Regions from separate parts of the Homo sapiens genome. Here all the other regions are linked to region 4. The links are contacts of gene promoters, found by promoter capture Hi-C in blood cells and fetal thymus (Javierre and others, 2016). All regions are on one chromosome and are shown on one strand. The core of a region is centred on a gene start or on the middle of the fragment in contact, and the rest is flanking DNA. Distances in the headings are between cores, read along the strand shown.

The links. Contacts are between HindIII fragments. The CHiCAGO score rates a contact against its expected background, and 5 or more counts as called.
Region 1: a contact is called between a fragment that was not itself captured here and the fragment with the promoter of TBX3 in region 4, in 1 of 17 cell types (naive CD8 T cells). The highest score is 5.2, in naive CD8 T cells.
Region 2: a fragment that was not itself captured here is called in contact with the fragment with the promoter of TBX3 in region 4 in 12 of 17 cell types (non-activated CD4 T cells, naive CD8 T cells, activated CD4 T cells and 9 more); the score reaches 13.2 in non-activated CD4 T cells.
Region 3: a fragment that was not itself captured here is called in contact with the fragment with the promoter of TBX3 in region 4 in 10 of 17 cell types (activated CD4 T cells, total B cells, total CD4 T cells and 7 more); the score reaches 8.4 in activated CD4 T cells.
Region 5: a fragment that was not itself captured here is called in contact with the fragment with the promoter of TBX3 in region 4 in 2 of 17 cell types (non-activated CD4 T cells and activated CD4 T cells); the score reaches 7.4 in non-activated CD4 T cells.
Region 6: a contact is called between a fragment that was not itself captured here and the fragment with the promoter of TBX3 in region 4, in 3 of 17 cell types (activated CD4 T cells, naive B cells and naive CD8 T cells). The highest score is 6.8, in activated CD4 T cells.
Region 7: a contact is called between a fragment that was not itself captured here and the fragment with the promoter of TBX3 in region 4, in 16 of 17 cell types (M0 macrophages, naive CD8 T cells, activated CD4 T cells and 13 more). The highest score is 17.8, in M0 macrophages.

The regions. Positions count from the first base shown.
Region 1 is chr12:115,815,905-115,819,311 of GRCh38, forward strand. The region is part of intron 3 of LINC02463 (long intergenic non-protein coding RNA 2463); the gene reads right to left. Among named protein-coding and RNA genes, the nearest start is that of LINC02463, 69 kb to the right of the region's middle. The HindIII fragment of the contact is 4,405 bases long and covers 1-3,407 here.
Region 2 is chr12:115,893,559-115,896,747 of GRCh38, forward strand. No RefSeq gene overlaps it. Among named protein-coding and RNA genes, the nearest start is that of LINC02463, 8.9 kb to the left of the region's middle. The HindIII fragment of the contact is 7,517 bases long and covers 1-3,189 here.
Region 3 is chr12:115,874,971-115,877,980 of GRCh38, forward strand. All of the region lies in intron 1 of LINC02463 (long intergenic non-protein coding RNA 2463), which reads right to left. Among named protein-coding and RNA genes, the nearest start is that of LINC02463, 9.8 kb to the right of the region's middle. The HindIII fragment of the contact is 1,854 bases long and covers 672-2,525 here.
Region 4 is chr12:114,682,331-114,685,535 of GRCh38, forward strand. TBX3 (T-box transcription factor 3) reads right to left here and starts at 1,845. Exons shown (of 7, transcript NM_005996.4): 1 at 482-1,845. The coding sequence starts at 870. It overlaps TBX3-AS1 (TBX3 antisense RNA 1), which reads left to right. Exons shown (of 2, transcript NR_187552.1): 1 at 1-304. RefSeq lists a promoter at 1,847-2,356. The HindIII fragment of the contact is 4,535 bases long and covers 1-3,205 here.
Region 5 is chr12:115,944,680-115,947,931 of GRCh38, forward strand. No RefSeq gene overlaps it. Among named protein-coding and RNA genes, the nearest start is that of LINC02463, 60 kb to the left of the region's middle. The HindIII fragment of the contact is 1,549 bases long and covers 763-2,311 here.
Region 6 is chr12:115,857,495-115,860,573 of GRCh38, forward strand. All of the region lies in intron 2 of LINC02463 (long intergenic non-protein coding RNA 2463), which reads right to left. Among named protein-coding and RNA genes, the nearest start is that of LINC02463, 27 kb to the right of the region's middle. The HindIII fragment of the contact is 1,177 bases long and covers 852-2,028 here.
Region 7 is chr12:115,913,356-115,916,752 of GRCh38, forward strand. No RefSeq gene overlaps it. Among named protein-coding and RNA genes, the nearest start is that of LINC02463, 29 kb to the left of the region's middle. The HindIII fragment of the contact is 9,331 bases long and covers 1-3,397 here.

The DNA of each region.
Region 1 (3,407 bases), core at 164-2,663, 1.1 Mb after region 4:
TCCATTAGCAACACAGTGAACACATGGCTTCCCCGCAGCCTGAGGGGGAAAGAGGGTCTCCTCTGGTCGCTTTCTCAGAGGGGAAAAGAGGCCTGTCTGTCAAAAATCCAAACAAATGTCTTCTTGCATTTCACAGGCCTGGATTGGTTCAGTACTCAACCCTGAGCCAATGCTTGTGGTCTGGGCTGGGGGCGTGGTGGAGGGAGATTTGTACATTGGCTTGCACTAGTTGGGTCTTGAAGCTGGGTGTTGGCGCAGTCCCACCCAAACCACATGGCTAAGAGAGATAAACCTGTCCAGAAAAATGCTAGGTAATGCTGCTAGGGAGAACAGATCGAATGCCGGTGAACATACACAGACCACTGCCTCACATTTGAGTTACAATTTCCGAAGCTCCTTTCTCACACATTGTCTCTGTGGACCCTTACAGAAGCTCTCTAAGGGACAGAATGAAGGCTTTTTGGCTCTAATATTTTCCACCACACTTACTAAGTGCATGCACATCTCTTTCCCTAACAGGAGTGATGCCAGGCAAGCCATTTCATTTTACCTCTGCATTCAGGGACATCGTGTTGGTAGCTTGAAGACAGCCATGCTGGGAATAGTTACACCATGGGAACTGCCAAACAGTACACAACAGGTAAGTTTTGTTCAGAAAGCTGATTTGCTGGCCCACTGAAGAGCTTCTGGCTCTGAGATTCTCCACAAAGTTCACCAAGGGGGTCAGAGAAGGATTTGTTTACCAGCCCCAGTCATCCTCCATTCAACCCCACAGTGGTCTTTCGAGAACAAGACTATGACATTTCATGACATTCTTTCATAGCTACCTATTACCTTCAAATTATCTTTCCAGATTCATTCCCTTACCCATCCTTTGAGCACTGGTTGTCAGTCACTTGCTATTCACAAAGCTCCAGCTGTTTTCTCACCTCCGTGACTGTGCACATGCTGTTTCCTCTGCTTGGAACACCCGTGTTTCCATCCTCCACGTGAGGGACCCTTCCTCCTCCACCAAGACTCAATGCAAAGGCTGCAGGCATTCTCCTCCTCCAGGTAGAGCTGGCTGATCTGTCTTCTGTGGTCCCACCACCTCTCCACCCCAGAACTGCCAAAATCTTGCTAGAATGTAATTACTCATCTACATATCTGTCACCTCCAGATGACTGCCTGCCTGGTTCACTGTTGTATTCTCAATGTCTAGCACAGAGCCCAGCCTACACTAGATAGTTCAAAACTAATTCTCAGATCAACAATGAATAAAACAAAGAAGTATTTAGCACCCACTATATGCCAGATACTGTACTAAGCATTGAAATTTGTGAGAGGGGTCAAGACATGGTCCTTGACCTCAAAGAGCTCAGATTATGCACATAAATAAGCAAGATTAAGACCTATGCTAAAATAAACAAGATAGAGACCTAAGTTAATCATCATTGCATCCCTTCTACTTAGCACTTAATATGTGCTAAACAACTGTTTGTGGAAAGAACGATGGTTCAAAACCCCCTTGACTTATTCAGGCCAGCAGAGGGGCATTCTTGACTCGGCTGTCATTTGTAATACACCATCATCACCAGACACTATTAAGCATCCGTGTAGTATAAACACAAAGCGAGTTACACAGACGCAGCCCCTGATGTCTGGGAGTCTGCATTAAACTAATGACATCAGCTCTCGGCAAACAGGAAAGAACAAACAAGCAGAGAAAGAAGTTGTGTGCTCCATGGTGAAATGGGAATGAGCAACCCAAGCTCGTGACGGGATCAGGGCACAGGCACATTGAGTACCAGGGACTCAGGCCAGCCGCCCTTTTTGGGTGGGATAAAGAGCATGCATCACCACTGCATTACCACTCTAAGGAGAAATGAAATGATGAAGACTTGAACACGAGGTGTGTAAGACTGAGAAATCATAATAGTAGTCATGATTGACATTTTCTTCACTATTGTCTGTGCACCAGGTACCATGCTGGCCACTGTATCTCTAGCAGGTCATTGAATCCTCACAATAGTCCTGAGGTCAATATTCACTTTATACAAATTAAAAACTGAGGTTCAAAAGAGGTAAGTCACTTGCCTAAAATTGCACAGCCAATAATAGGGAAGCCTGGGTTTCCAACTCAGATCTAATTCCTGAGCCTGATTTTTAGCCATAGCATTATACTACCTCAGAGAAGCTAGAAAAAGTGCAGACAAGTTTTAACCCTCTTTTCCAAGAGGGAAAGAGTTTGGATGAAATATGCATAAGTGTTTGACAGGTGAGCCTCCCTACGGCCAGGATGCAGAACTGCTCCATCACCACAAAGAAATTCCCTCGTGTTACTCCCTGTAAGTCTCACCCTTCCTCAATAGGCAGTTTGTTTCATAGCTGAGAAACCCAGCCAAGCAAACTGGGCTAGCACAGATCTCTCTTACATTTTTTGATCTGCTAATTTACTGTTGTGCTTCCTCCACGCAACTGGCTTGTAAATTGCACATCCTCATGAGGGGGTCATCTTAGCATTTCCCTTCCTCTCTCCTCTTCTCAAGCCTAAAATGCCAACATAAAGCCTTCCAACTGGGACAGGAGATAAGAAATGAGGAGGCAGCTGGGAGCATGAAATGGATCAGGGTGCAGAGGTAGGAACAGCCCATGGACATGCCTAGTGGCTGGACCAGTTGTGTGTGGTGGTGAGGCGGGAAAGGGTGAACCTCAATGCCAAGTCAACTTTCTTCTTTTTTGTTGGAAAATTGCAAACATATATTTGACACAGACTCAAATTCACACATGAAGAGAAGCCAGAGTCGAGAGCTGCAGGCCCCAGGTTCCAAACTGGTCAAAGAAAGCTCACTGTCATTGTAAATCTTCTACAGGAACACTCCTGGTATTGTGTGACCATTAAAGGTATGGGCTTTGGAATTGGTCCTGTCTGGTATTAACGCTCTGTTTCAGTACTTGGTAGGGATGTTGCGGTGAGTTTGAGTAGTGCCCTGCCCACCCCACTACCACCAAAAAAAATACATCCACCCAGAACCTCGGAATGTGACCTTATTGAGCCTAAGAGTCTTTGCAGAGATAATAAAGGTAAAGTTCTCTAGATGAGACCATCCAGGATTAAGTTGTGCCCTATATGCAGTGATAGATGTCCTCATAAGAGACAGAAAAAAGAAGACAGACACACAGGGAGGAAGCCCATGTGAAGACAGAGGCAGAGACGAGTGATGGAGTCACAAGCCGAGGAATGCCTGGAGCCGCCAGAAGCTGGAAGATGTTAGGAAGGATCCCCGCTAGGGCCTTCGGAGGGAGCACAGCCCCACCAACACCTCAATTTCAGACATTACACCTCTAGCACTGTGGGAGAATACATTTCTGTTGTTTTAGGCCACCAAGTTTGGCAGACCTAAAAACTAATAGGAGTGATGCCAGGC
Region 2 (3,189 bases), core at 600-3,099, 1.2 Mb after region 4:
TTTTTTTTTTAAAGGAAGTCTTCAGCCCAATGTCAATAGTGCCCAGGTTGAGAGGCTCTGGTCTAATTCAACCTTCCCCAGCCTCAATGGCAGCTCAGGGGATTACACCAAACTTACCCTTTAACGTGAATTCTTTCAGGGCCCCCAGTAAATGGAAACTTTATCTCCTTCTCATCTCAGAATCTACAACCTGGTGGCCAGTTTAGCAACATGTGATTCTTTTTTAACACCCCCCGTTTCTAAGAGGAAAATCAAAACAAAACCCTCCAAATAAATTGCGGGAAAAATAAAAGGATATTTCTGATGTTTTTCTAGGCTTTTCATCCTTTTTAAAACGGGGGCGAGGGGGAGGTCAAGTGGCAGCTGAGGAATAAAAACAAGTATTCAAAAGCATCAGCGACCCAAAGTCCGCAGAAAATCAAAACGAACCCAGCTCTCAGTGTGCGTAATTACGGGTACAATCAAGTAATGAAAGGTTTATTAGTTTAATGTGATTCCATCAAGTACCAAAAAGCGGGAAGGAGTGGGAGAAAGAAAGAAAATGGATATGAAAGAGGGGAGGGAGAGACATGAAAGAGGAATATGAGTGGGCAGAGATGGCGAAATTAAAATGCATCTTTATTTAAACTGCACGTCCTGGATGTTGAACCAGAGTTGGTCCAAGGCAGCTGCAGAGGAGCCAACCTGAGCGCCTTCTGCAAAACATATGCCTTTGCAGTCATCCAGTGGATGATTTTTTAAGACTATGCACTTGACCCTGTTTTGGGCTATGGGGACTCAGCGATGAATGAAATAGACAAAAATTCTCCTCTTCCCCACTCTACCCCCTGGAACTTACATTCAAGTGGGGAGAATAGACATTCAATGAATTAACAAGTCAAATGCACTGTATTATTACACAGAGAAATATAAAGCAGGGAAGCGGGATAGGAAGTGCCAGGGATGGGAGAAGCACTGGAATTTTAGAGCAGGTGGCCAAGCAAAGACTGGAATGGAAGGACATAAAGGAATGAGCCAAGGGCAGACGTGGGGGAAGAACATTGCCAGTAGAGGGCAAAGGAAGTGAACGTGTCCTGGGGTAGGACATGCCTGTGGAGAAATAGTGAGAAGGCCAGTGTGGTTGGACCAGAGCAAGGGGGAGGCAGCAGGAGATAAGGACAGACAGGTCATGGAAGCCAGATCCTGTAGAACCTTGGAGGGCACAGGAAGGTCTCTAGCTTTTATGTTGAGTGAGAAGGGAGCAAGGGGAGGGTTTTGAACAGAGGAGAGACACAGGATCACCCTAGCTGCTGAGCAAAGAGAGGGAAGCAGGGCTGAGACCAGGACAAGGCAAGTTAGGCATGTAAGGAGCAAAATTTTAGAAGGCACCCACTCTCAGGGCATGCAGTGATTCACTTGTCTCTCTCTATCCCAGCCCTGCAATGAAGGGTTATTTAGACCTTAAGGTAAAGACTCTGTGATGGACACAGACCATCCCCGTCAAGGAATGCCCTGTTAGCAGACAGCATACAGCTATCAGCCTCTCCAGGGATGGCTCAAGGTGCAGAAAGCCATACCCTTTCTCAGGGTGTGTTTTCATTTTTTATCTTTTTAAAATTTTAAGTTCTGGGATACATATACAGAACACGCAGGTTTGTTACATAGGTAAATGTGTGCCATGGTGGTTTGCTGCACCCATCAACCCATCACCTAGGTATTAAACCCTGCATGCATTAACTATCCTGATGCTCTCCCTTTGGGTGTGTTTTTAAATGTAGGCTTTATAGTTCTCATTATTATTATTATTCAGGTATGGCAAAGTCAAAAGATAGGAGGCCATTGAGTATTAAAAAGATACTTTGTTACTCACAGATCCCCAGTGTGGGAGCTTGTCATGCCAGCAGTGGCCACAGGGGAGCAGCACCAGGGATGTTCAGGAGGCAGAGGGAATGGGTGAAAAAGTAGGCAAGATCCTTGATTGCGGTTTCTGAAGGAAGAAACAGGTGAGGCAGGGTAAGCAGGCTTGGAATTGGCTCATTAGAATAACTTCAGTAGGTTCTGGGGCATAGCACTGTCCCTAGCTGTCTGGTACCTGGCCCTGTAGTGATTAGGGTAGGTGGATAGTGGCCCATAGTGTGAGAGCCAATAAAGGAGGTGGTGGGGCCTGTGGGCTTTGGGCTGGTTGGTTTGCATATGAAAGCTGCACTTGAAGTCCACTCATTTACTCTATGAAGGAATTGACTGGCTTTAGGAGAGGCAGTCTCTCCAGAGTCAGCAAGGGTCCCAGGTGTGAAAATATGAGAATGAAAAGGCATGCTTAATACACAGTGGCCCACATCCAACGACCAATGCATGTAGGAGTATAGAGGCCTGGCCCTCCCAGCCCACATGGGACAAACCCAAAGGAGCCACTTCAGCTCCAGAGCTCCCCATGGGGTCATTGGGCCGAGGCTGCCATTGAACCCTCATCACAACTCGACTTCCCCATCTGCCTATTCCTGCTTCTTCTTTCCCTGAACTTCCACAGGCATAGATCCCCATGGCACTCCACAATAAATACCCTACAACCTAAACTCTGTCCCAGAGTCTGTCTGCTTCCTGGAAAACCCAGCCTAGGACAACATGAGAGAAAAAAAAATGTGAAATATGTCCCCAAAACATCAGTGGGCAGATGGCGAGATGGCCAGAGAAGACAGTCATGGGGTGAATTCCCAGCTCCATCCAGCCTGGCCCACTCCCTGGGGTCTCTCTCCTTGGTGACAATTCTGGGTCTTTCTCTCTCGCTCTCTCCTGCCATCTCTCTCTCCCTTTTTAAATTGTAAAGTATAACACATATACAGAAAAAATGTACAAGTCACACAGATATAGATCAGTAAATTATTACAAAGCGAACACCCAGGTCAAGAAAGAGAACATCAACTGCAACCCCCAAACACTCCACCATTCCACCTCCAACCAAAGGTAACCTTTTGTCTCTCCTGAGTTTTAACACCCTTATTTAGTTTGGCTTCTTTTGGAATTTTATACATTTGACCATAATGTCTATAGAGCACATATTCTTTGAGCTTGCTTCTCTCCCTCAAAATATATACAAAATGTGTATATGTGTGTTGTGTGCGTGAAATGTATCCATGTCACTGCAAGTAATTGTATTTGATTCATTTTTCATTGCTGTATAATATTCTATGATGGAACCATGGTATCCCATTT
Region 3 (3,010 bases), core at 349-2,848, 1.2 Mb after region 4:
GACAATTAGAAGCATAGTACCCAGGAGCTGGGTACTATTCCGTTAGGGCAGTCGCCACAGAAAAATTTTTATAAAAGGGGTAGGAACATTTCAGCTTGCAGAATTTGGAATGTCTGGATGTCAACTATGATGTGGAAGGTAGGGGCAAGGGAAGGGTGTGGACAACTCTGAGGTTTCTGGGTGACCATGTAAATGCCCGTATCCTTAATAAAGATGGTAACTTTTATTTTAAGGGGGGCATGTTTAGGGACACAGGAGGGAGTTAGAGCAATTAGTTTAAGTTTATATATGGTGAGCTTGAAGTACTTTTGAGACATCCAGGAGTGAGGGGCAGATGAATAAGGACAGAAAAGAAATTGGGGACAGAGAGAAATGCAAGAAACAAGAGTAGTTATACAAGTTATAATTTGTATACAATGGCCAATTACACAAGTTGCCATTGATAACGTGCTTCCTATGTACTTCCTATCTCTTGATCCTCACAATGCCCCCTGAGGGAGATGTCCTTATAGAGGGCCACATAAGTTGCTCAAATCATCCAACTGGTAAGGGAGGAACCAAGATTCAAACTCAGGCCAACTAACCACAATGCTGAGAAAAAGATTCCTGACTACCATCCCACGAAGTGGATAGGAGCCCTCCAGGTGAGAATGTGCACTGAGCCTAGCCAAAGCTTCCATTGGCCCATAGCCCCAGAGTCAGGGTCTCCTGCCTCCTAGTGCAATTCAAATTAATAAAACCGGATTGAGAACCACAGACTTCAGGAAGCACCCAGTTTTAAAGAACAGGGTCTGCCCCTCCAGAGCTCACACACAAATTCCAGGCCATCTTTGGACTCACTGATTTGAAGAATCCTACATGCCATGAAGGGATTCCTCAAGGCTAAGTTTGGACTTGGTACCAAAATAGACTCACCTCTCACTATAAACCAATTCTGGGTCTATTGTGTATAATATAGTAGTCTTGTATAGGTAGCAGCAACCTGAATCTGTCCTGAAGACACAATTCCTCAACAACTCACTCAACAAGCATGTGTTAATTGCTAGCTACGTGCTAGGCATTGTGATAGGCACTGGCAAATACAAGTGTTTAAAAACATAGTGCTTAAAGTATCAACAAAGCAAGGGTACCATAAAACTGAGGGAAAAAAATATCTTTTAAAAATTTCATATTTTATGGCTGCATAGTATTCCATGGTGTTGAAGCTGGAAACCATCATTCTCAGCAAACTAACACAGGAACAGAAAACCAAACATTGCATGTTCTCACTCATAAGTGGGAGTTGAACAATGGGAACACATGGACACAGGGAGGGGAACATCACACACCAGGGCCTGTTGGGGGGATGGGGGGCAAGCGGAGGGATAGCATTAGGAGAAATACCTAATGTAGATGACGGGTTGATGGGTGCAGCAAACCACCATGGCACACGTATACCTATGTAACAAACCTGCACGTTCTGCACATGTATCCCAGAATTTAAAGTATAATTAAAAAAGAATTTTATATTTTATATCTACTGTAGTTATTAACAATGTATTGTATACTTAAAAATTGGTAAAAGTAGATTTTAAGATTTTAAGCATTCTCAGCACAAAAAAAAAAATGGTAAGTATGTGAGGTAATGCATACATTAATTAGCTTGATTTAGCCATTTCACAATGTATACATATTTCAAAGCATATTATATACCATAAATATTTTTTGTCAATTAAAAAAATAGAATATATTTATAAATGAGTTGTAATAGCAAAAAAAAAAAAGAAAGAAACTTAAAAAACAAGTAATTATCACAGTAAAAATCAGAATTTAAATGGCACCATACTATTCTCAGTAATATGAGTCTCTAAGGAAAGACATTGGTCTCTGCCTTTCTGGAACTGGGTGAAATATATGTTAGGGGAGATTTGAATATGGTAGAATTTTTGAGTTATACGTGTCTTGGTTCAAATCCCAGTTCTGCCACCTTCCGACTATGTGATCCTTAAATTATGAGTCTTAGTTTATTCATTTGTAAAATGTAGATAGAATCAACTTAGAGTTGTTATAGGGACTCATAAAGTAGTGTCAGGAAAGTGTATGGCGGAAGTCAATATAAATCAAATCTTACTATGAGACTTTCCTTCTCCTAGGCTGTATTAGTTATCTATCACTACATTAAAAAATCACCATGAACTTAGAACCTTAAAACAACACACATGTATTATCTCACAGTTTCAGCATTAGGAATCAGGCATCATTTGCCTGGGTTCCCTTTCTTAGATCTCTCATAAACCTGAAATCAAGACACTGGCCAGGGTTAAGGTCTCATCTGAAAGCTCAGTGGAGAAGATTGCACTTCCAAGCTCACTTATGTTGTTGGCAGGATTAATTTCCTTTGGGATATTAGACTGTGAGACTCAGTTCAAGCTGGCTGGTAGCCAGAAGCCACCCTCAGTTTCTTGTCACATGGGCATCCCCAACATGGCAACTAGCTTTACTAAAGCCAGCAAAGGAGAGAGTTTGCTAGCAAGACAGCAGTTCCAAGCTTATATGATGTAATCATGGAGGTAACATTCCATCTCCTTTTCCATATTCCACTGCCTAGAAGCAAGTCGCAGGTCCTGCCCACACTCAATAGCAGAGGATTTCACAAAAGTGTGAAGAGTGGGGTTGGGGGCCAATGGGGCCATCTTATATAGCCTGTCTACCACACTGGCTGACATTTCTCACTCCTTCAGCACAGTCCTCTACTATTGGCACATCAAAAAGGATGCACCTGCTTTTCAACCCAAAAGATCTGTGGCATTAAGGCCCCCACCAACATGGCAGTATAGGTTGGCCACCTGCTGAAAGGCATCTGCAAATCCAATGTCCTTGTCTTTGAACAAGACTGAATATAGGCGTATACCTGCCTTCTGAGATACACATAAGCTTCATGATCTAACTTGATGTGTGTCATCTCATCTAAAGGCAGATTAAACTTTGCTTACAGATACTTTCATAAAATGAAAGTGTCCTATTTGAGATT
Region 4 (3,205 bases), core at 595-3,094:
CCCAGAGGCTAGACTGGAGGGCAGAAAGGGCCGGGGAATGGTGTCAGGCCTCCCAATACCCACACAAAAGGAAAGGGCTTTAAGTTTTTCTCTCTGAGAACAAAATAAAACAGACAACACAACATCAACAAAGAAATAAGGATGTTCCAGGAGGGTTTGAAGAGTGAGTTTCTTGCAGTAGAGTGCCTTTTTTTTTTTTCTTTCCTGCTCCCTGCAGGGATGTCTGTGCTCCACTGAAAAATTCTGTCTGTTCGGGAGGGAACCCAGGATGCAGACCAAATGCAAGACCCATGCAGATGCCCAGGTAAGCTGAAATTTCCTGCCACCGGGGCAGGGCCTGGAAGTCTGTGCATACATTTCTAGGGGAACTAACTTTTCGTCCAAGCCGTAATAACCGACCAACCGACTGTTCTGGGAGCAGAGAAATAAAGGGAGGAAAAAACTCTCCAACAGCTTAGGGGAGGAGGCCCCCACTGCTTACCTTCCCGACTTGGTAATGACCATCTCGGTGCCCCGCTTGTGAAACTGATCCCAAAGTTCTTTAGCCTCCAGGTGCACCTTGGGGTCGTCCTCCACCTCTTCTTCGGGCTCCATGGTCTTCAAAGGCCTCAGATGCGCCTGGGGCCCCAGGGAGGAGAACGGGATGCCGGTCTCGGCCGCCCCCACCAATTGATCCATGATCGGCTTGGCCAGGGCGCCCGGCAGCGAGAGCGCCGCCGCGCCGTTGGGAGGCAGCGTCAGCGCGGGGAAGAACGGCGGCTGGTGACCCAGCACCGCGCTCATGGCGAAGTCCGGCGCCCGGTGAGGTAGGAACGGATGGTAGGCCATGCTTGTCCCAGGAATGACCGGATCTCTCATGGAGAGGCTCATCCACTCCAGGCGGGGCGCTGGGCTCCAGCCGGGGACAAGTCCGCAGCTGCTGTGTTTTGTTGTTTTTTTGTTGTTGTTTAACAGCAGCACATAATTCAAAAGGGGGGAAAAAGCAAAACAAAAAAGAAAGAAAAAAGAAAAGGAGGCAGAAATCACAACTAATGCACTTCAAAGGGAGGAGGGGAAGTGTCTTTTGGAGAATGGGAGGCCGCTTTTAAAGAGGGCAAGGCGAAAAATCAGCAAACATAGTCGCGCGGGTGACCGTCCTTGTGCCTTGCGTTTTTAAAAAGCCGCTCCTGAACGTCGGTTTCAGAAGCGAGAGGAGCGAGCAGGGTCTCGACTCGCGCCCGAGCCCTGCCGCTGAGCTCGAAATAGACACTCCAGCCCTGCGTCCCAGGAATCTCTCTCCAGCCCCTAGGTCTTTTGTTGCAAATGTGAAAGGTTCTCCTAGAAGACTTTTTACCTTTCTTTTTCTTCTTCCCCCGCCCCCTATCTGTCTTCCTCTCCCTCTTTCTCGCTGGTGGCGTCTGCAGCTGTGCTAGACCCGGCTTTAACAGGGAGCGAGAGAGCGGAAAAAGTCTCTCTCCTTTAAAAAAAAAAAAATCTGATTTAAACCCCCTTCTACCAGCGCTATCAAAACTTGAATTGCAAACTGGCTTCCGTTCGCCGCCCTCCTCCTCCTTCCTCTGCTCCGAGCCTCCGGAGGGTGTCTCGGTTTCAATCCAAATCTTGCTGGGCTCTTCTCCCGTGCCTCTCTCTCTTCCTTGTCCTAAAACGTGAGCGAATTCGCTTCCTAAATCTGTGTCCAGGCGCGCAGGGCAGGGAGGATTTAGAGGGGGAAAAAATGGAACAGAGGGAAAGAGAGGGAGGGGAGAGAGAGAGAGAGAGAGAGAGACGGAGTCGGAGAGGGAGGGAGCGAGAGAAAGCGAGAGCTCCTCGCCACCCTCCGCCGCCTCTAGAATTCACCGGGCGTCTGCTCGGCGGCTCTAGAAGGTCGGGCTGCGCTGTGGGCTGCGGGGAGCCGGAGGCCTCTTGATTGGCTCTTTGACGCTTTCGGACCAATTGTGTTGCTGCATAGGCGTGGTTTTCACAGGTCGAGTGCTGGGGGATAGAGCTGAGTTATAAAAAGAAGGTGTCGGAAACTGTAACGTCGCAGCGCCGCATCGGTACTACTGCCTGTCCTGTGAATATGTCAACATGATCAGAGGGCGGGCGGGAGCCACTGGGGAGCGCGCGCGCACAGAGTCGCCTCTAGGTGGCTTATCGAGAGATCGCTGCAGCCCCTGAGCTCGCTCGCTCGCTCTGGTTCAGCCCACGTCTGAAATGCCTCAGTCATCCAGCCGGGGATCGAGGGAGGAGGCAGGGCCAAGGAGGAAGGGGGAGGGAGAGAGGGAGGGAGCCAGCGAGCAGGCGAGCCGGGCGGGGAAGGCGGAGAGCGCGCCCGGGCGCCGGGCAGGGGCGCTCGCCTCTCTTGCACTCCGCTCGCCTCTCCGACCGCCGCGGCCGGTTCTCTCTCCAGCTCTCCTTCTTCTCCCCGCCCCGGGCGAGCCGGGCGGGTGGCCGAGCCTCCCCGCGAGCTGCCATCCGGCCACTCGGTTCTACAAAAGCCGGCGGCAGCCGAGAAGCGAGCGCCGAGACTCCAGGCTTGCGTGCTCTCCAGCCCCACGTGGAGCCAAGCTCCGCCCGGCCGCCGCTGAAGGGCTCCCGAGCTCGGGTGTCTCGGTGCTGGTCTCCCCTGCGTCTGGGCTGGGGGAGCACAAGGATGCGGCCATATCTCAGCACACGCATGTGTGGGCTTCCTCTCCACTGCGCCCCACCCGCAGCCATGTGCGGGTACCCAAACACCCCCGGTGTATCTGTACTCGAACACGCGCCAACACACTGGGACTGAAACACACACCGAAAAACACGTACACACAAACACGTACACAGCCTGCGCGGCTGGCCCTGCCTGAGCTCCTGGGGAAGATGGATTTGGGATTTTTATGAAATGCATTTACCAGCCCTTTTGGATCTCGTCTTTCATTTGCATGCGGGCCCCCATATTCCACCTGGATGTGGGTGTGGGTGTAGAGAAGAGAATGGAGGATCTGGACAAAGCGAGCACAGCGAGAGACTGGGTTCTGAGCCTGTCCCCTCCAAGCCGCTGCCCTCACCTCGAGGCCCGGCTGGGTGCACAGCACAGGGTAAGGGGTGGGCGATTGGGTTGGGGGAGGCGCGCCAGCCTGGTATCTTCTCTAGGCATCGCACTTATCTCTCGGTGCCTCAGTTCTTTCTCCACCCCGGGGACTTAATCTGGCCAGAAGTCGGGGAGGGAGGGTGAATTTGTAAAACA
Region 5 (3,252 bases), core at 287-2,786, 1.3 Mb after region 4:
AAAATCTGTTTTTTTTTTAGAAAAAAAAAAGTGAATTATCCTATTTTGAAATGTTGGCTACTGATTCAAACTTTTTAAAAACACTGTGCAGTCCAAATCCATCCTGCAGAGGCAAAGGCCGTATTAGGCCCAAGGATCACCCACTTGTAAACTCTGCCCTACGTTTAGAGGACATTTTTGCCCTTCAGGAACCGTGTTAGTAATTCGCAAAAGCACAGGGGTGATTTAGGGTCTTGAGCTCAGTGGACAGTATTGCTGCTTTCCCCGACATCGTGGACGCCCACAGGCAGATGGAAAGGTCAGGAATACAGATGAGGAAAGAGCCGATCTGGCCTCAGCTCAGAAGCCTTCACAAGCTACAGAGGCCTTACCAGAGAAATCTCCCTGCTTGCTCAGTTTTGCAACCGGCTCTGGAACAAGTGACCTGTCAGGCTTCTATGCCTAGGACTTGAAGGGACGTGGAGGCTTCTTTACTTGGAAGCTGATAGCGTTTGGCTGTGTCGCCACCCAAATCTCATCTTGAATTGTGGCTCCCATAATCCCCATACTTCATACGTGGGACCCGGTGGGAGGTAATTGAATCACGGGGGCGGGTCTTTCCGGTGCTGTTCTTGCGATAGTGAGTAAGTCTCACGAGATCTGATGGTTTTATAAAGGGGGTTCCCCTGCACACTTGCACGCTCTTGCCGTGACTTTGCTCCTCGTTTGCCTTCCGCCATGATTGTGAGGCCTCCCCAGCCACGTGGAACTGTGAGTCCACTAAGCTTCTCCCCTTGATAAATTACCCAGCCTCGGGTATGTCTTTATTAGCAGCGTGAGAACAGACTAATACAGAAGGGAAGAAGGCAAGAATATCTCTCCAGCAACCCAATTAAAAATCTCAGGACAGTTCAGGCCCCTGGAGGCTTTTACTTGAGTCAAATCCTCAGGAAGGCCAGCACTGCTCCTGTAAATCACTGTCTTCCTCCTGGGATGGAAAGGGACCAGGAAGCCAGAGTGCCCAGCGTGCCAGGGTTTCACTGCCAGATGTCTAGAAGGCCACATCCAACCGAGATGCCCAATTCCAAAAACGTCCACAAGTCAGGAGGTAGAGTGGGGCAGATGTGTGGGGCTGGCCCAGGACGGGGATGTTTGTTTTTGTTTGGGGGCCTGTAGGCCTGGGAGCTATTAACAAATGCCTATTAATCTTCCTGTTGGTTTCAGGGGGCAAAATTAGAGCCAGAAATGAGTCTGGAGCTACATGGACCTAGGAAGAATATTTAGAAGCCCTGCCCTCATGAACTGGGAAGGAAGAAAAGACACCTTCCCCCACAACGCCACAGGAGCTATCAAATGTGCTCTTTTTAAAGTCATTTCTATTCTTTAAAAAAATGCACCATTGTGGTGCAGCCACTGTGAAAAGCAGCATGGCGCTTCCTCAAACAATTAAAAACAGAATTACTCTGTGATCTAACAATTCCAAAATGTGTACGGCCATGTCCATTTTAGCATTAGTCACGATACCCAAAAGGTGGAGGCAAGCCAGTGTCCACTGAAGCCTGAAGGGATCAACAAAATCTGGTATATACATGCAATGGAGTGTGGTTCCACCTAGAAAAGGAGGGAAATTCTGGCACCTGCTACACAGGGGTGAACTCGAAGACATTATGCCAAGTGAAATAAGCTGGTCACAAAAGGACAAATACTGCGTGATTCCATTCATAGGAGGTGCCTAGAGGAGTCAAGATCACAGAGACAGAAAGAATAGTGGTGTCAGCGACTGGGGAGTTAGCGTTTGATGGGCACAGGGTTTGTTTTGCAAGAGGAAGAGGTTCTGGAGATTGTTTGCACGGCACTGTGGAGCTGCTCAACCCTACTGAGTTGTACACTTAAAAGTGGTTAAGATGGTACATTTCACATTATGTGTATTTTTACCACAATTGAATTATTTTTTAAATGCACCCATTTTAAATGGATAATTCCCTGTGCTTTGACAAATATAACACCACCAACTAAAACAGAGATGTTCCTCTCACTCTACTAAGTTCCCTCATGCCCTTTTGCAGTCTGTATTATTTCTAAACATCCTATTGGATTAAAATTTAATTAAGTAGAAATGATATCTCCAATGCCCTGGGTCTGCTCCAAGCCTAAAATCTCTGAGGCTACCAGGAGCCATTTCACATGCAGGTCCCCTTCTGCCCGGGGCCCACGGGCCTTTCCCGAGGTGTCTGTGGGGGTTTACAGGGGCAGGGAGGCACCATAGGAAGGATATTTGCTTTGGCTTCTTCAAGTCTAATGAACGCCAAGGTATTGAATGTAACAACATTAAAGCTTCTCCTCCTCACACACATACACGTGCACACACACATGCACATGTGTGCATACACACGTGCGCGCAGACCCCCCACCCCCCAGCAGCTACCAGCCTCTTAGCTCAGTCTTCTATGCACTATAAATTTGCCAAGCCAGATTGCTCTTCTCAGCCACCCCTACACCTGGCACCTATGCCCAACCGGGAATCTGTCCCCTGGGGCTCTTCACCTAAACGAGGGCTGCCCTGGGAGAGTGGACTCAGACCAGCCCCCCAGGGCCTTGGCCCCCTGCTTTCAAATCCCTTGACTTTTGCCCATTAAGATTTGTCAGTGAACATCGTCCCCTGGTGGAAAATCTAGGACATAACAAATATGTATCTGAGCTTCTGCGGTATTTCCTAGAATTTATTCATTCCAAAATATTTGCGAGGGAAATAACTTTTCGGTGGAGAAATCCAGAAGACGCAGCCTTAACCAAGGGTTCAAGGTTAATGTCATCTGTAAGATGATACGATGACATCTCGAACCCTCCCAACACTAATGCATTGGGAAGGACGTTGTCACTTCCATGGTGTTCTTGTCCCAAGATGCATAACCACAATTTCACCACTAGAAAATATCAGACTAACCCAAGTTGAGAGACCAAATAACTACAAAATAACTGACCAGTCGGTTTTGGGCTGTTCACCCAAACGAGAGCTCAAACAAGAACAGTTCTGTCAAAGTCACAAAGCAATAAGGAAAGACGGAGGATTGGTCACAGATCAGAGGAGACGAAGGAGACGTGATGAGTGAACGCCATGTGGGGTCCCAGATTGGACCCTGGATCAGGAAAACGACCTCATGGGAAAACGTGCAATCTGAGCAAAGGCTGAGGTCGAGTTTACGGTGATGCACAAATGTCCATTTCTTAGTCCTCATTCTTGTCCTGTGACGATGCAAGATGTCAACACCAGGG
Region 6 (3,079 bases), core at 190-2,689, 1.2 Mb after region 4:
GAGCTGGGTTTTATAACAATTTAATTAATAATATATAGTCATTCATTTTGCAGCTCATCTCATTTGGTTTTGCCAACAGCACTGTGTATAAAGTAAGGCAAGAGTGGTTGCTATCATATCCATTTTACAGAAAACTGAGGCTCAGGAAGGTGAAGTTCATAGGGGCTCCCCATGCAACCAATTCTGGAGCACATAGAAGAGGCTTCCTGGAGCTGATGGTGCCCAACCACCAGAGGGCTCAGACAGAATCCTGGCTCTGCCCCTCACTTGCTGTATGGCATCCTGAGCAAGTTACTTAGGTTTTCTGCGCCTCGAGTTTTGGCATCTATAAAATGGAAACAAACGAAAGCACTGCATCTTAAAATGCTGAAGATGAGATGAATGAATATGTATCAATGACTACAACTAGTGATTCCTTTAAAACGTTAAGTCAGATCCTGTCACTCTTCAGTTCAGACCTTTCCATTGGCTCCCATCTGCTTTGCAATAAAATCCAAAATCCTCACTGCGAATGGCCCATGGAACTTCACATGGCCTGGGTGTCCAGCAACTTTCTCCCTGTTCTCAGCCTTTGGCTCACTCCTCCTCCACCAGCTGGCTTCCTAGCTGCCTGGGGACACACAGAGCTCAGCCCTGCCTCCAGGCCTTAGGACATTTTGTTCCCTCTCTTAGGAACACACTTCCTCGCTCCTCTGTCACCTCTCAAGCCACCCTTCCCTGACCACTTTCCCCATCACCCTCCTTGTCCTGCTGGATTTCTTTCTCATCAGCACTTACGGCTGCCCAACAGACCACACATAGTGTTTATCTGCATATTCATTTCTTGTCCATTGGCCCTGCTCTGAAATGCAAGCTTGATGAGGGCAGGAATAGGCTGTTTTGTGCATCACTGCATCCCCAAGACTTGGAACAATGTCCGGCACCTTGCTGGCCCTCTATAAATGTTAGGTCTCCCAAAAGGCAGGAGACAGGGTCACTACAGGCAATGAACACAGCATAAGCAAAGGCCTGGTGGTGGGGACAGAGCATAATCCAAGCAGGGACCCACACGGAGTTCCTTTGACCTGGTGCTGCCACCCTGGTTAGGGGAAATGGGCTCTGCTTACCACCAAGACACCTTGGACACATGGATTTCTTAGAAGCCCAGTGAAAATGCTTTGGGCTGACTCCTTCTCCGATACTTCCTCATCCCCTGTTCTGTTTGACCCCTCATCCTTTGCCGGGGTCATTGCTGCCTTCATCTGCAGCCCAAGGATAGGGGTACAGGCAGCCAGGGCTGGGGGCCCCTCAGTCCCAACTAGCAGCTTTGGGGGTCTTTGGAAGGCTGGTATCTAACAGAATGAGGGGAAGACTTTGGGAAGGAAGAAACCTCCCCAGGGAAAAGCTACCTTGTACAGAACTCACAGCTCACAGCCATAAAAAGAATAAAAACTAGAAAAGGCTCCATCTCCTTGGCCCCTTTAAGAAAGACACCTTGGGATTCTGGCTGGAGGTCACAGCAGGAAACTGGACATGTACAGAAGGGGCTGCCCGATAAAATAAATAATCATTTATTAAGGTACTTGTCTACACAGCAGGAAATCAGCACAGGGAGTGTGGGTCGGGGAACAGAGCCTCCCTGAAGAAGGCAGCTATCTTTAAAAGGGGGGATCTTGATTTGAAACACTTGTCTCCAGATGGGACCAGTAATCCTCAGCCCTTAGCCTCATTCCAAACCTCCCAAGAAAAGGAATAGCAGTGCACAGCTTTCTAGAACCTTCCAGGGCAGGAAGAAAAACGAAGAATGAAGAGACCTTCTTCAGGCCACCACACTGGCTTCCCCCCAACTTGTGCCCACGAGTTTTGGGCTGGAGCTGAGACGATAGCCTAGCAACATGTTTTATTTCTGCAAAAGGAAGTGATCTTTGAAACGGAGCCACAAGAAGATCTGAAAAGGGATTTCCTGATCACAGCCCTGGGTGAAGCAACTAGGATGGAGCTTCCTCCAAAGCCAGACTGGCTAGGGCACCACTGCTCCCCCTTCTTGAAAGCTTCGTACTTTCTCCTTCCACAGACGCTGTGCAGGATTTTCTCTCTTTGCCTGGAATGTTCTCTCCCTACCACATGCTCCACCACCTCCACCATCCCTTGCATCCCTTGGCCTGGGCAACTTCTTCTCCATCTTTCAGATTTCAGCTGAACCAGGGAAGCCTTCTCTGATCACTTTTTTTTTTTTCCTGAGACGGAGTCTCACTCTGTCGCCCAGGCTGGAGTGCAGTGGGGCAATCTCGGCTCACTGCAAGCTCCGCCTCCCGGGTTCACACCATTCTCCTGCCGCACCCTCCCGAGTAGCTGGGAATACAGGCGCCCGCCACCACGCCCAGCTAATTTTTTTGTATTTTTTTAGTAGAGACGGGGTTTCACCGTGTTAGCCAGGATGGTCTCGATCTCCTGACCTCGTGATCCGCCCACCTTGGCCTCCCAAAGTGCTGGGATTACAGGGGTGAGCCACAGCGCCCGGCCTCTGATCACTCATAAGCAACCAGCTGAGCTGCTACATATGGGCTCTCGCATACCCACCACCCCCACAGCGCCAAATTGTGTATTGCTCAGTGCTTATCATGGCTGGCACTGCACACTTTATATGGATGCAATAGTTTATTGCATCTCTTCTCCACTGCTTCAGTTGTACCTAACACTATAGCCACAATGCATGACACATGGTAGTCCCTCAATGAAGATGTGTTGAATTAATGAACAAATTGACCTTTGGGAAAAATATATCAGTATACTTCAGTCTCCTAGTTAAGTGTCCAAACACTTGAATGTATGCATGAATGAGGGATGAATAAATGAGCAAGTGAATGAATGAGCAAATGAATAAATGAGCGGGTGAGTGAATGAGTGAGTTATTGAATGAATGAGTGAATGAGTAACATAGTGACTGCATGAGTGAAGGGGGAAGTAAAAGAGCGAATGAATAAGTGAATGACAATGGCTTCCTTGAGGGTGGTCCTATTAGTTAATGCCTTTTTTCGGTCTCTCCTTTTCTCTGTATGCAGAGAAACAGATAGAAGAGGCTGGCATGAATGTGACTCTA
Region 7 (3,397 bases), core at 361-2,860, 1.2 Mb after region 4:
CTCAAAGACACCTATGGAGCACCTACCACATGCAAGAAAAGCACATCAGGGGATGAGGGTGATGAAGAGATGAGCCAGGGTGTTTGAGATGTGAGGGAGACCGATTCATAATGGAAATGAGGCTCCGTCTGCTGCAGGAAACAAAAAACAATCTCTCAACCACCAAATTACAAACATTCCCTGAGTCTTAGCTTCCTCATCTGTAAAAATGAGGATACAAACAGCTTCCATGGGATGGTTATGGGAAGGAGTGAGCATCAAATAAAATAATCCACACAAAGTGCTGGCACAGAGGAAGTGTTGAAGATGTTAACCTTTATCAGTATTATTATTACTTGTGGACATAAGACCTAGAGGGTGGCCAGGTGTGGTGGCACACACCTGTAATCTCAGCACTTTGGGAGGCCAAGGTGGGAGGATCACTTGAGGTCAGGAGTTCGAGACTAGCCTGGCCAACATGGTGAAACCCCATCTCTACTAAAAATACAAAAATTAGCTGGGCATGGCGGCAGGCACCTGTAATCCCAGCTACTTGGGAGGCTGAAGCAAGAGAATCGCTTGAACCCGGGAGGTGGAGGTTGCAGTGAGCGGAGATCGTGCCACTGCATTCCATGCAGCCTGGGTGACAGAGCGAGACTCCATCTCAAAAAATAAAATAAAATAAAAATAAACCCTAGAGGGTAACATCACTAGGTACCTCCAGTTCCTTGGAGGTTTTACTCCAAGATCAATGAGAAGAACATTAGGAAATTCACCCTGAGTGTCTGCCCTTCCTTCTGTCTTTAAATAGGGAAAGAGCAGGTTGGGAATGGTCCTAACGGTTAGGAAGTGTTCAGCTGCAGACAGACACCTCACCATGAGTGCCTTCAGCCATGGGGTTGGATTTTCCTGAATAATAAGTCTGAAGTGGGCCATCCAAGGCTTTCTGCACCTCAAGAATGCCAGAGCTCGGGATTGACGTTACTGCCATTCTGGTGGCTTCAACTCAGACTCAGCTCCAGCCACGACTGTCAGCCTCTTAAATGCAGTGGGGAGAGGAGAGAAAGGACATTTCCCAGAATTTCTCAGAGCAGCTGGCATTGACTCCCATTGGCCAGAACTGGGTCATATGGGTTCCCACAGCCAGCGAATGGGTAAAAATTCTTTGCCAAGGCCAATGTCAAAAAGGGTATTTCCTGGGTTTTCTTCCAGGATTTTTATAGTTTGAGGTCTTACATTTAAATATTTCATCCACCTTGCGTTGGTTTATATGGTGAAATGTAGGGGTCCAGTTTTGCTCTTCTGCACATGGCAGCCAGCAATCCCAGCGCCATTTGTTGAATAGAGACTCCTTTCCCCAACAATGGGATTTTACAAGCAAGCAGAGTGGGGTGGCCGGGGGTGCCCACAACAATCTTCTTCCCTGGGATGCACTTATGGGGAAGGGGGAATATTAGAGACACCGAGGATCCCCATCCTCAACTTCCCCAGGAGCTGAAGGTCATCAAGGCCTCAGGTGGTACCTAGCAGATGCCGACTGTGTGCCTAGCCTCATGCCTGACACAGAGACGTACAGGAGACATGGGCTGGTTCCTAAAACAATGGAGTCAGGTGATAGAAACAGGACACACACGTGCACACACACACGCACACAACTATATAAAGAGTGGGATCCTCAGTCGCTGCAGGCTGGCCTGATATAGTGGGTCCCAATGCCCTGGGCCTTGAAGAGTGGGAGGGTAGGGGGAGAAAGGAGAGGCAAGGGCATTCCAGGAAAGGGGCCCAGCCTGAGCAAAGGCAGACAGGAGCGTGTGATCTCAACCAAGAGCCTCTTTCCATATTGAAAAAACTTCTGTTAAATGGCAAGGTCTACACTGAATGCCAAGTATGCAGAGAGAAGAATCTCAGTCCTTTTCCTCAATGAGCTCATGGTCTTTCAGGCATCCATTCACTTCTACCCCCTGCCCACCCCATGCAAAACAATCGATGAATATCATTTGCTATAACCCAAGCACGGTGCTAAGCACTTCGCAGACATAATCTCAGTTGATCAGCACAATAAACCTACCAGTAGGAACCATTAAGACCCTCAGTTTACAGAGGAGGAAAAAAATGGGCACAAAGAGGTTAAATAGCTAGAGAGGCAGGAAGAGGGTAAGAGGGCATCAGTGGGGTAAAAGAATACTGTGTTCCCTGTAAATGTATATAATTACGATTTGTCCATCAAAAATAATATTAATACAAAGCAAACAAAAATACTATGTGCCAATCTTAGTTCAGCCACAAACATCCTGTGTGAACCTGGGCAAGTCCTCTCCCACCCTGGGCCTCAGCTTACCCACCTGTAAAAGGGATGCAAAGTCTCAGAGCTGCAAGGCTCTGAGGTATGAGGGTCTGCAGATGCTGCCGTGCATTAGAAATACCTGAGGACCTGCTAAAAGTCTTGATGTCCTGGTCCGATCACAGGCCAATTAAATCAGAATGTCGATGGGTGGAAGGCAAGCACAGCTTTGCTTTGTTTTGTTTGAGACAATGTCTTACTCTGTGGCCCGGGCTGGAGTGCAGCAGCGCAATCACGGTTCACTGCAGCCTCGACCTCCTGGATTCAAGTGATCCTCCCACCTCAGAGTAGCTGGGACTACAGGTGCTGCCACCACACCCAGCCATTTTTTTTTAATGGTCTCCAGGTGATTCCAAAAGTGAAACAAAGTTTGGGAACCACTGGTCTGAGGATTCCCACTTTCTGGCCTCTTGTGATACCACGGGGATAGCCTGAGACAGGATGAGGGTATTGAGCCAAAAAATAAATTAAATTAAATATCCAGAATAGGCAAATCCATGGAGAGAGGAAGCAGATGAGCAGTTGCCAGGGACTGGGAGGAGAGGAGAATGGGGTACAGGGTTTCCTTTTGGGGGAAATGAAAATGTTGGGAAACTAGATAGTGGTGATAGTTGCACAACACTGAATGTGCTGAACTGTATGCTTTAAGAAGGTGAAAATGGGGCCGGGCACGGTGGCTCACACCTGTAATCCCAGCACTTTGGGAGGCCAAGGCAGGCGGATCACTTGAGGTCAGGAGTTCGAGACCAACCTGGCCAACATGGCAAAACCTCATCTCTACCAAAAAATACAAAAATTAGCCAGGCATGGTGGTGGGCACCTGTAGTCTCAGCTACTCTGGAAGCTGAGGCAGGAGAATCAGTTGAACCCGGGAGGCAGAGGCTGCAGTGAGCTGAGATCCACCACTGCTGTCCAGCCTGGGCAACAGAGCAAGACCCTGTCTCAGACAAACGAGATGGTGAAAATCGGAATCTCTATGCTATGTGTCTTTTACCACAACATTTTAAAAAACAAAGCAAGCAGGGAGGGAGGGAGGGATGGAAAAGAAAAATAGAAATTACAGTAAAAATAGGGCAT